Linked DNA regions of Homo sapiens: regions 1 and 3 are each linked to region 2. Evidence: promoter capture Hi-C in 16 types of primary human blood cells and fetal thymus (Javierre and others, 2016). All regions are on one chromosome and are shown on one strand. The core of a region is centred on a gene start or on the middle of the fragment in contact, and the rest is flanking DNA. Distances in the headings are between cores, read along the strand shown.

What was found. The method cuts DNA at HindIII sites, captures the fragments that hold promoters and counts their contacts. A CHiCAGO score of 5 or more calls a contact.
Region 1: a contact is called between a fragment that was not itself captured here and the fragment with the promoter of LINC00970 in region 2, in 1 of 17 cell types (M2 macrophages). The highest score is 7.8, in M2 macrophages.
Region 3: a fragment that was not itself captured here is called in contact with the fragment with the promoter of LINC00970 in region 2 in 1 of 17 cell types (erythroblasts); the score reaches 5.5 in erythroblasts.

The regions. Positions count from the first base shown.
Region 1 is chr1:168,749,228-168,753,058 of GRCh38, reverse strand. No RefSeq gene overlaps it. Among named protein-coding and RNA genes, the nearest start is that of DPT, 22 kb to the right of the region's middle. The HindIII fragment of the contact is 1,586 bases long and covers 1,197-2,782 here.
Region 2 is chr1:169,084,139-169,088,364 of GRCh38, reverse strand. It overlaps LINC00970 (long intergenic non-protein coding RNA 970), which reads left to right and starts at 1,360. Exons shown (of 5, transcript NR_104091.1): 1 at 1,360-1,410. The HindIII fragment of the contact is 14,978 bases long and covers 1-4,226 here.
Region 3 is chr1:169,348,977-169,353,063 of GRCh38, reverse strand. All of the region lies in intron 1 of NME7 (NME/NM23 family member 7), which reads left to right. Among named protein-coding and RNA genes, the nearest start is that of NME7, 17 kb to the left of the region's middle. The HindIII fragment of the contact is 5,177 bases long and covers 1-4,087 here.

The DNA of each region.
Region 1 (3,831 bases), core at 740-3,239, 340 kb after region 2:
ATCCCAGCACTTTGGGAGACCAAGGCAGGTGGATCATGAAGTCAGGGGTTCAAGACCAGCCTGGTCAAGATGGTGAAACCCCATCTCTACTAAAAACACAAAAATTAGCCAGGTGTGGTGGTGGGCACCTATAATCCCAGCTACTCGGGAGATTGAGGCAGAGAATTGCTTGAACCCGAGAGGCAGAGTTTGCAGTGAGCCGAGATAGCGTCACTGCACTCCAGCCTGTGTGAGAGCAAGACTCTTGGAAAAAAAAATCTTTTCACTTTAACTTATAAATTACCCTTTAACATTGAGGAGGAGCTGGGATTGTATCAGTGAGACACTGTATTTCTTAGGTTTGCCATCACCCAATTTGGCACTGATTTAGGACAGGGGCTGCATATGTGTTTGAATAAACACTCCCTCCCTCGTTGTCTGCCATACTTCATCCTGCATACAAACTTGATGCCTATAGCAAGGGTTTGGTCTCCTTTGATTAAGCCCTGGAGTTGAGGGCGGGGGGTGTTATCCGCTTTTGTTTCATGGAAAAGTACTCCCATATCTAGCCCCGATTCCTGAAAACTCATACCACAGTTCTCTTCCCAGGACTTTCAGATGTGAGGGGTTTGCACAACAGCGTCTTGGACAATAACAGAGAAGATAAAATTTCACAGATAAGGAGGAAGTGGTGTGCGTGGAAACTTGCAGTGGTTTAATTTCCATGCCCTTCTCCCCACACCCAGTCTCTCAGTGGGATGCTTGTCTGCACGTATAACTATGAATTATAGAGCTCCCATAAAAATGTGAGTCATCACCCAGTTAATATTTACATACACAACGTGTAAACTCCTTTGTCTTTAGCTGGGTGACAGTAAATAATGTTGAATCTGAAAGGTAAAAATCATCTGTCAGCAGCTGAGTGATCTTGATTCCTTTTTGTGGAAAACTTGGGAAAAATTGCCCAATTCATCCGTACATCAATGCTTCTCAAGCAACTTGCTTAATATTCATAACTCTAGTAATTGATTCACACTTTTCTTTCTGACACATAAATATTTTTCTCAATTATTTCCATCTCTTTTTCTCACTTGCAATCAATTTCCTGACCATCCATGTTAGAGTGACTGTTAAACATGGTTTACTTCTTGCTAGTTTTACTGTTGTTTAGGGGACATGATAACTGTCTTCCTAGTTATCATCTTAGTAGAAAAGCTTTCTGTTTTAATTTGTCATTTCAGTTCAGTTCAACAATGTCTTCTGAGCCTTTACTATGTAACCCCCACTGATTGTGAGGACCTCATCACTGAAACAGTCTTTGTCCTTAAGGAGCACATGAGCTTGTATAGATGTTTTATATATGCTACTAATTTTTACACATGGCAATATGACAATTTCATGTTGAAAAGAAATGCACTACAGACAGTGTGTTATGGCAGCACAGGGAGCAATTACAGAAAAACCTTCAGACAGGAGGATGCTACTGAGTTGAGCTCTTATTGCCTAGCAGAGTTAATAGGCATCCTTTATTGACTGCTTGCTACCAAGCATTGTGCTCAGTCTTTCACATGCATTTTCTTATGTTATACAAGAATCCTGTGAGGCAGACAATGTTATTATCCCTACTTTACAGTTGGGCGAACACAGGCTTTGAGTTCAAATAACTTTAACTGCCAAAGGATTTCTTGCTGACTCCGCAGTCTCTCCCCTCGCCACTCCACCACACACCTACTCATTTGAGTAGATTTTTTAAACAGACAGAAGATGGAAAGCATTCCAGGCTGCACTTCTATGTTTACTGAATGAGGAGGGAATGTGGAGTCTGGTGGCAGGATTGTGGCAGGCTAGAAAAATAGCCTTGGAATGATTCTCAACTACCAAGAGGTTACTATGTGCCAAGCAGTGCCTGAGTACTTCACAGACATGATTATCATTTAATCCTTATAATAATCTTGAGAACTGGATATTATTATCTCAATTTTTACAATTGTGGAGACTCAGAGTTTAACTGTACTTGCTTGAGACATCAAAGAATATTGAAGAGCAGGGATTTGATCTGTAGTCTGGCTAGGATCTTTAGGACCTCTCTAATCCATTACAGGGAAAGGAGCTTTCACAACCCTGATCAAGAACTTCCTGTCTTTAATTATTACTATACCTTCACTTCCTTTCTTTCTTAAGCCCAGGACCAGAAAGCAAATTAAAAATTCAATGCATTTCCCATCAAAATACCAAAATACCATCATTCTTCACAGAACTTGAAAAAACAATCCTAAAATTCATATAGAACCAAAAAAGTACCTTCATAGCTGAAGCAACACTAACCAAAAAGAGCAAATCTAGAGGCATCACATTACCCAACTTCAAACTATACTAGCAAAGACTATAGTCACCAAAACAGCATGGTACTGGTATAAAAACAGGCACACAGAATAATGGAACAAAATAGAGAACCAGCAATAAAGCCAAATACTTACACCCAACTAGTATTTGACAAAGCAAACAAAAACGTAAAGTGGGGAAAGGACACCCTATTCAACAACTGGTGCTGGGATAATTGGCAAGCCATATGTAGAGGAATGAAACTGGAGTCTCATGTCTCATCTTATAAAAATATCAACTCAAGGTGGATCAAAGACTTACATCTAAGACCTGAAACCATAAAAATTCTAGAAGATAACAGTGGAAAAACCTTCTAGACAGTGACTTAGGCAAAAACTTCATGACTAAGAACCCAAAAGCAAATGCAACAAAAACAAAAATAAATAAATGGGACCTAATTAAGGAAATTAAAGAAAAAGCTTCTGTGCAGCAAAAGAAATAATCAGGAGAGTACACAGACAACCCACAGAATGGGAGAAAAATTTTGCAATCTATGCATCTGACAGAGGACTAATATCCAGAATCTAAAAAGAACTCAAACAAATCAGCAAGAAAAAAATACTAATCCATGTCCCCTAAGGACATGAATAGATAATCCTCAAAAGAGGATATATAAATGGCCAAGAAACATGAAAAACATGCTCAACATCACTAATGATCAGGGAAATGCAAGTGAAAACCACAATGCAATACCACCTTACTCCTGCAAGAATGGACATAATAAAAAAAAATTTAAAAAAAATAGCTGTTGGCATGAGTATGGTGACAAAGGAACACTTTTACACTGCTGGTGGGCATGTAAACTAGTACAACCACTATGGAAAACAGTGTGAAGATTCCTTAAAGAACTAAAAATAGAGCTACCATTTGATCCAGCAATCCCACTACTGGGTATCACCCAGAGGAAAATAATTCATTACATGAAAAAGACACTTGCACACATGTAGTTACAGCAGCACAATTTGCATTTGCAAAAAGTATGGAACCAGCCCAAATGCCCATCAGTCAATGAGTGGATAAAGAAAATGTGATATATATATATATATATATATATATATATATATATATATATATATACATACACACACACACACACATACACATATATATACACACATATATATACACACATATATACACACATATATACATACACATATATATACACACACACATATATACACACACACACACACACACACCATGGAATACCTCTCAGACATAAAAAGGAATGAAATAATGACATTTGCCGCAATCTAGATGGAGTTGGAGACCATTATTCTAAGTGAAGTAACTCAGGAATGGAAAACCAAACATCATATTTTCTCATTTATAAGTGAAAGCTAAGCTATGAGGAAGCAAAGGCATAAGAATGATACAACGGCCAGCCTGGCCAACATAGTGAAACCCCGTCTCTACTAAAAATGCAAAAATTAGCCAGGTGTGGTGGCACGAGCCTGTTGTCCAAGC
Region 2 (4,226 bases), core at 111-2,610:
TGAGCTATGGGTTTATATACTAATTTTGTTTAACTGCCACCTCAAACCTGTGAGAGAGTGCTATTATTCTGATTTTACAAATGGGAGAAGGGAGGCTCAGGAAGGTCAGTAAGTGGCAGAGCTCACACACTGAGTTCTGATGTGTCTGAGTCCAAAGCCCATTCCCATTTCACTGCATTCCTAACTGAGGCCTGGAAAACTTACCCCTGAGATCACAGCATTGCCTGAGAGGAAAAAGGACTTTTCCTATGGTTTTCACACTTTCACTTTTTGCACTGGATCTTTCAGTTGTCTGGTTAACAACTAGGTTACGTCATTCTATATGGGGCTTTCAGATACAGAGCAACTTTCCCAGGACCACCCATTAAACTAGAAGTGAAGTGATATCGTTGTTCTCACTATGATGGTAGGGTGAAGGAAGCAGATTGGCCATGCCAAAACTGATGTCCTCTGAGATCCCGAGGCCCAAGCCAACATTTGACGGCATACCTCACTCAACAACACTTTTACCTGTGTAATAGAAAACAACAGCCATTTATAACTCGCTTATTCATTTTTTTTTTCCACAGGCCTCTGCGCAGCATCTGCTATGTGCAGGCACTGTGCTAGGCCCTGTGGAGACAATAATGAAAAAGATATAGCCCCTGCTTTTCAGATGGTCACAAATTGGCAGAAGGGTGCAAACTCATAACTCTCTTTATTCCAACATTTTGCCAGCTCTGGTTGTAAAGTTGAGGAGTTAGGAGTTGGAGTAAATTTAGGAAATGGGTAGAATATTATTTTTGCAGCTCATTGGAATTCTCCCTTGTTACAGATCAGGGTCCTGGGTTGGGTGGCATACCTATGCCTGTCATTATTTGCATCCCTGGTTTAACAGCTGGCTCTGGCCAATCTTATACGATCCTCTACCTTAGCAAACAGAAACACAGTTTTTGAAAATTCACATGAAGAAGAGTTGAATAGCAAATAAGTTCAGCCTTGAGGCTCCACCTATTACCTGGCTGTTGAGCTTTGTAAAACCATTGATTGTTTAACAGCCAGCAGGGCAAGAAGGCCAGAATTATGCTCAGCAAATGCAGAAACAGAGCACAGTTGTCTGTGTGTGTTTCCATGGTAACAGTGATAACAGCTTATATTTATAGACTCTCTATCTCCAAGGAGCTCAAAGCACTTTACAAACACATCATCTCTCTTCTATAGGAAAAAGAGAGAAGGAGAGAGAGGGGGATAGGAAGAGAGGTAGAGAGAGAGAAAGAAAGGGAGAGAGGGAGGGAGGAGGAAGGGAGAGAGGGAAGCAGGGAGGGAGAGAGAACAGGAGAAGAAGGAGGAGGTACAGAAGGACTTGGTGTGCTATTATGCACATTTCACAGATGGCACAGAGTGGGGAAGTCAGTGACCCAAGGTGGCAAGGTAAGCCAGTGACAGATGGTAGATTGGATGGACCTAGTGGCTCATATAACTCCTGGAACTTTTGCTGCTGGCCTTGAGCAGATGTCAGGGCTGAGCTGCTGTCTCCTAGTCATCTTGCTCTGTTCAGTGTCATCTAGGTGATCAGATAACTCCGGGGACATCAAAAGCAGTTTGGCTCAGTATTGTTGGTGGGAAACACAGGGAAAATTCTTCCATGGGGAGTTGGGGATAATGTCCAAAGTCCTTATAGCCAGACAGCCACCAGGCAATCCCAGACTGTGTTCCGAGGGATGACAGGCTCAGCTGTGCTGCACACTCATACTGAGGCTCTGCGCACATTGATGGAAATGGTTTTCTTCAAATAGAGCCCATTTCACAGTTTCTGAAGGACCTTTGGAGGAAATGCCTTTTGGGTACTTCTTTCTGAGACAACTATTAGACATGTGATGTGACTTGGAGTTATCTGAAGGCTGTAGCCTATGAAATTGAAAATGAGTTTTGTAAATCTCAGATCTACTATTTTCTGTATAAAATTCTTGTATGAATAGAGCCATGTCCTCTGGTGGAGGCCTGAACTCTTGGAGTGGGTTAGCATGAATCTCAAGCTCTTGAGTCCTGGAGCAGCCTGTCCCCATTCTTCTTTAGCCAGAGTTGGCCTTGGTCCCCACTTCTTACCCTCACAGGCCTTCTGTTTTCCCCCTCACTGCCACCTCACTCCACATTTAGCCTTTGGAAAATAGCAACTATTTTCTCTTCTAAAAAAGAGTCATTTTCTGCAGAGCATTCAGTCAATCCAGCCAGCAGTCCCCATGGCAACACTGAGATAAGATCCTTCCTCCCGCAGGTCTTCAGTGGTCTTGATAAACAGATCCCACCGGTTCCTGCAGCCCATGACCTCAGGCTGAAGCCAAAGATGAGCTTCTTGCCTGTTTAGGCTTCAGGGATGCTGGACTGAAGGGCTGATAGTTTGAGTAGCTGAGTCCCAGCAAAGTTTAAATGCTTTACAAATAGGCTTCTGACCCCCAAAGCAAAAATAAATTAAGCAAAGAACTTCCTGAAGGAGGAGGAGCAGTTGTTGGAGGGCCTTCTGGTTTCTGCACCATCTTAGTAGTTGACCTACATCCACCAGCGCCTGGAGGCTCACCCACCCAGGGGGAGTGAGTGGGCTCTTCCTCTGACCCTCTCAGGGTGGGCTGCACTCAGACTGAAGTTCTTTCTCTTCCTTCAAGATGCCAAGCTCCCTCTTACCTCCTGGCCTTGAGCTCCAAGCAGGAAGGAGCCCCAACCCCTGGTTTTGTGCCTGGTGCATACTCAGAATTTGTAAAGGAATGAACTCCTTTTGGCTGTTCCCTCCCTCCCTTAATCTTCACACCTTTTTCTTGGCCTTCCCAGTCCTCCTCCTTAAGGTCCCTCTTAGACACTCTGAAATTCCATCTCTCCCACTTCTTCCTATATAGTATTTTATCTTTCCCTCATTACAGCACTTATCACACACTATGGCAATTGCTTATTTTGATAGGAGTTTCTGGATGTCACTGAAACTGGCTTTTGGAGGTTTGTTGGAAACAGCATTTAAAGGTTTACTTCTGAATTAAAAATTAATATTCTGATTATTAAAGTTAGGATTAAAAACATAGTTTATTTGGGTTCAACTTATATGTGTAATTATTTTATTTTATATTTTTCCCAACTTTTAAGTTCAGGGGTACATGTACAGGTTTGTTACTATTTTATTTTTTAGTCTAGCAGAGTTTAGCAATCACTTCTAAAGGGCCTATGAATAAAGTTAATTACTTTCAAATAGTTTAAGCTATGATTATTAGTTATAATCGCCATCTCTTTCTTTTCCTATATGCATTTGTCTGTATTAACAAACTAAACTTTTTGGAGGACTTTAATACTCATATACATTTAAGCTCTTAAATGTATAAATATAGGATCCTAAGGTTCTCTTGTATGTTCCAGTAAACTTAAGAACTCAAAACCATAAAATTTCACATCAATTACTCAATTGTATTTTAAATGGGCCTTACAAGGCTATCATTCTAATAGGTCTGATTCTATTAAAAATTGCAAATACACAAAATAGCAACTATACACAATTTTATTCTTTAATACAAAATTATCAATACTATGGTTTGGGTCTCTCAAATCTTTCCATACTTAATTCTCAATCTTCCTGGTGTTAGGAAACACATAACCTACCTAAGGGAAGGCATTTGCCATCACAGGTAAATGAAGTTAGTTTTGCCCAGAAGATGGTCTTCCTGGTGACCATGATGGGACTTAGCCTTATTTAATGCTTATAGAGTCATAGGTTTTCACACTAAAGAGGCTGGTCTCCCACAGCCTTTGTCATTCCATCTGATTCTTTGTTTACTCAGAGGAAGCCTGTAGTTCCCATTCTTATTGATCACTTCACTGGATTTTGTATTTCCTTGTCCCTTAAGATTTGTCAGTATATTTACAAGTAACGCTAACTTAAACTTGATGGAATCGTAAGATTTATATACATTATCTTCTTGTTAATAATAAATACATTTGACCTTGATGGGGTTTCCTATTCTCTTATATTCTTAGGATCATACACGTCTTAGGGCTATTACACGTGATACTCTGTTGGGTTTTGTCTCACTCGTCATGACTCTTGAGGTCATTCTGCTTGCTGCTCCAAGGTCTCCTCCATTAGACTGTGAGCTTCCTGAGGGCAGGGCAAAGATGATTTGTTTGGAGTCATAAGCCCAGAATTCAGCATCTTTCTTGGCAAAGGACAGACATTATTGTCACTTGACCCTCCAGTTAAAGATAACCAGGAG
Region 3 (4,087 bases), core at 835-3,334, 260 kb before region 2:
AAATTTTAGGATTGTTTTTTCTATTTCTACTCTTTGAAGAATATCATTGATATTTTGATAGTGATTGCATTGAATCTGTAGATTGCTTTAGGTAGTATGGACATTTTAACAATATTGATTCTTTCCATAAACATGGAATCTTTCAATTTTTTAGTGGCTTTTTCAATTTCTTTTATCTGTGTTTTAAAGTTTTCATTGTATAAATCTTTCACTTCTTTTGTTAATTCCTATGTATTTTATTTTGTTCATGACTATTGTAAATAGGATAACTTAAAAAATTTTTTTTCAGATTGTTCACTGTTGGCATATAGAAATGCTACTGATATTTGTATGATTTTGTATCCTGCAACTTTACTGGATTTATCAGTTCTAAGAGTCTTTTGGTGGAGTCTTTAGGTTTTTCCAAAGGTAAGCTCATATCATCTGCAAACAAAGATTCTTTGACTTCTTCCTTTCCAATTTGGATGCCCTTTCTCTCATCTGATTGCCATAGCTAGGACCTCCTATGTTGAATAACAGTGGTGAAAGTGTATAACCTTGTCATGTTCCAGATCTGAGAGGAAATGCTTTCAGTTTTTCCCCTTTCATTGTGATACTAGCTGTGGGGCTGTCATATATGGCTTTTATTATGTTGAAGTATATGTTCCTTCTATATCCAATTTTTTGATGTTTTTAACAAGAAGGGATGTTGAATTTTATCAAATGCTTTTTCGGCATCAATGGAAATGATTGTATGGTTTCTGTTCTACATTCTGTTGATATGATGTATCACATTGATTGATTTGCATGTGTTGTACCATCCCTGCATCTCAGGGATAAATCCCACTTGGTCATGATGAATGATATTTTTAACGTGTTACTGAATTCAGTTTTCTAGCATTTTTGAAGATTTCTGCATCAATATTAGAGATATTGTTCTGTAGTTTTCTTTTTCATTCTTTTTTTTTTGATGTGTTGTTGTCTGGTTTTGGTATCAGGGTAATACTGAGCTCATAGAATGAGCTTGGAAATATTACCTCTTCCTCTATTTTTTGGAATAGTTTGAATAGGATTGGTATTAGTTCTTTATATGTTTGGTAGAATTCAGCAGTGAAGCCATCAGGTCCTGGGCTTTTCTTTACTCAGAGACTTTTTATTATGGCTTTGATCTTGTTACTCATTATTGGTGTTTTCATGTTTTGGATTTCTTCCCAGTTCAATCTTGGTAGGTTTTATGTGTGTAGGAAGTTTTTGATTTTTTACAGATTTTTAAATTTATTGGCATATAGTTGCTCATAGTAGCCATCAATGATCTTTTGAATTTCTGCAGTATCATTTGTAATGTTTCCTTTTTCATCTCTGATTTTATTTGTTTGGGCCTTCTGTCTATTTTTCTTACTCTGACTAAAGGATTATCAATTGTGTTTATCTTTTCAAGGAACCAACTTTTTGTTTCATTGATCTTTTGTATTTTTTTTTCATTTCAAATTCATTTATTTCTGCCATGATCTTATTATTTCTTTTCCTCTAATTTTGGTTTCAGTTTGCTCCAGGTTTTGTAATTTTCTAAGGTTCATCATTAGGCTATTTATTTGAAGTTTTTCTCTCTTTTTTTTTAATGTAGGCACTTAGAGCTATAAATTTCCCTCTTAATACTGCTTTCACTGAATTCCCTAGCTAGTAGCATTCCATAACTAATAGTATATTGTGTTTCCTTTATCGTTTGTATCAAGAAAATTTGCAATTTTCTTTTTAATTTCTTCATTGACCCACTGGTCATTCAAGTCATAAAGTCTTAGATCTGAAAGAGACCTTTGATTTTGGTTAACATCAGTGATTATGAAATTGAGGTTATGATGTATCACTGGATTGTAGGCGCTAAATTGTAAGTAATAGACAGCTTTTAAAAAAAGGTATAAAAATATCAGTACATTTCACATATTGAGAATAAGAATTGTTTTTGAGAATTTTATTCCAGTTGTAGGGCATGTGTGTGTGTGGTTGTGGGTGGATGTGGGTGTGGGTGTGTATTGGTCCCAATGGAAACTGTGGTTCTTACTATAGGTTAAGAAATAGGGGAAAAAGAAAAAAGAAAAAAAAGAAAGAAAAAAGGAAACAGGAAAATGTTTTTGAACTATTGATCTAGTCTTATTCCCAAATTTTATAGCTAAAGAAACTAGTTGGGACATACTGAAAGGCCCACATGTCTTCTACCTCAGTGTGATGATCCCATTTACATGTGATGTGCATGTCTGTATGTGTATATGACTATTCCACATTGAAGTAATTCTAATTTCCAAACGAAGGAAAGAAATTACAAAGTTTATTTAGTTAATACCATATCAGTAAGTGCTCACATCACTTCTCTATTTTTAATCTCTTTTATGTTTGCCTTATTTTTCTTTTTTTCCCTCTTTTCTTGAATATCCTTCTATTTCTCTAGGAAAGAAAGATATACAACGTGAAGCTAGAGAGAGGGAGAGAAAGAAATCCAGGACCAATAAAGAGGGAGAGGGACAGACATCCAAAATCTAGGAGACAAAAGAGAGAAACATCCAGGGCCAAGCAGAAGTAGAGGCATCTCTGCCCCATCACTCCTGCTTTCTTCAAGATCCCCTCTGCGTTTTGCACAGGCTGTAGTCTTCTGGGAAGGCAGTGCTGGTGGAGAATGGATCCATCTACTTTCAAAGACATGCATTGGGAATTTATTAATACCTCTCTATCCTGCTGTCTGGCTCTCTGAGTTGGGACTCAGTAATGTACTAAGGAGAGTGAGCTCCTTGAGAGCAGGGCTCTTTCCTTCCTTCCTTCCTTCCTTCCTTCCTTCCTTCCTTCCTTCTTTCTTTCTTTCTTTCTTTCTTTTCTCCCTTTCTTTCCTTTCTTTCCTTCCTTTCCTTCCTTTCCTTCCTTTCTTTCTTCTTTCTTTCTTTCTTGGCACGATCTTGGGTCACTGCAACCTCCACCTTCCAGGTTCAAGTGATTCTCCTGCCTCAGCCTCCTGAGTAGCTGGGATTACAGGCACCCACCACCACACTCCGCTATGTTTTTGTAGTTTTAGTAGAGGCAGGGTGTCACTATGTTGGCCAGGCTGGTCTCGAACTCCTGTCCTCAGGCAATCCATCTGCCTCGGCCTCCCAAAGTGCTGGGATTACAGGCATGAGACACCATGGAGGTAGGGCTTATTTCTTACTCACTCTTGTAGTCCCTCAGTAATAGCTTGCTTAGAAAACTATTCTAATTAATACACTGAGCTTTTGAGATACTGTTCCTTTTATACAGTTACATTCTTACTAATACAAATGAGAAATCTATAGCCTTAAAGAAAGGATTAGGCTAAAAAGGGACTTAATTTTGGAAAATTTGTAAGGAGCTTGATAAAATGAATCCAGGGTTTTAAAAAAAGAGGTTCTGTTACACACACAACACACACACACTAAATAGACATACATTGTGGATTAAACCTTTTTTAAAAATGTCATGAGAAAGATATTCTTGAAATGATTTAATAGCATTTTTTAAATTATTGTTTTTAATTGTTTAAGATACTGTTATGTAATTTGTTAGATGTTAGAAAGCAAGCGAAAGGAATTTATTAGATGTTAGAAAGCAATGGAAGAGAATTCACTGAATGTCACGCATATTCCATAAGAGTGGCTGTTTGATAATTTCATCAATAAATTTAAAAACTTTAAACTTATTTGGGGCTGACTGGGCAAAGGATAACCCCCCCACCCCAGATTGGGTCCTCTTTTATGCAAGGAATTAGAGAGAAATGAAATTGTTGACCTGGCACAAGCTATCCTTTCATTAAAATGTTTCCTAAAGTCCCGATGACTGGAGGGGATATATTAAAAACAAAAGGAGGCTGCTCTTCCTATGGAGTAGGCATTCTTTTATTCCTTTACTTTCTTAATAAACTTGCTCTCACTTTTCTTTAAAAAAAGAAACTTATTAACTTATTCTTTAAAAAAGAATGGGAAATCTCTTTTTCTTAATAGTTAATATCTATCACTTATTGAATGCCTACTGTATATTCTTTTCACATAAGGAAACCTCAGTTTTTTAAAATACCCAAGATTATACGCTAGAAAGCGGTAGGGCCCAAATT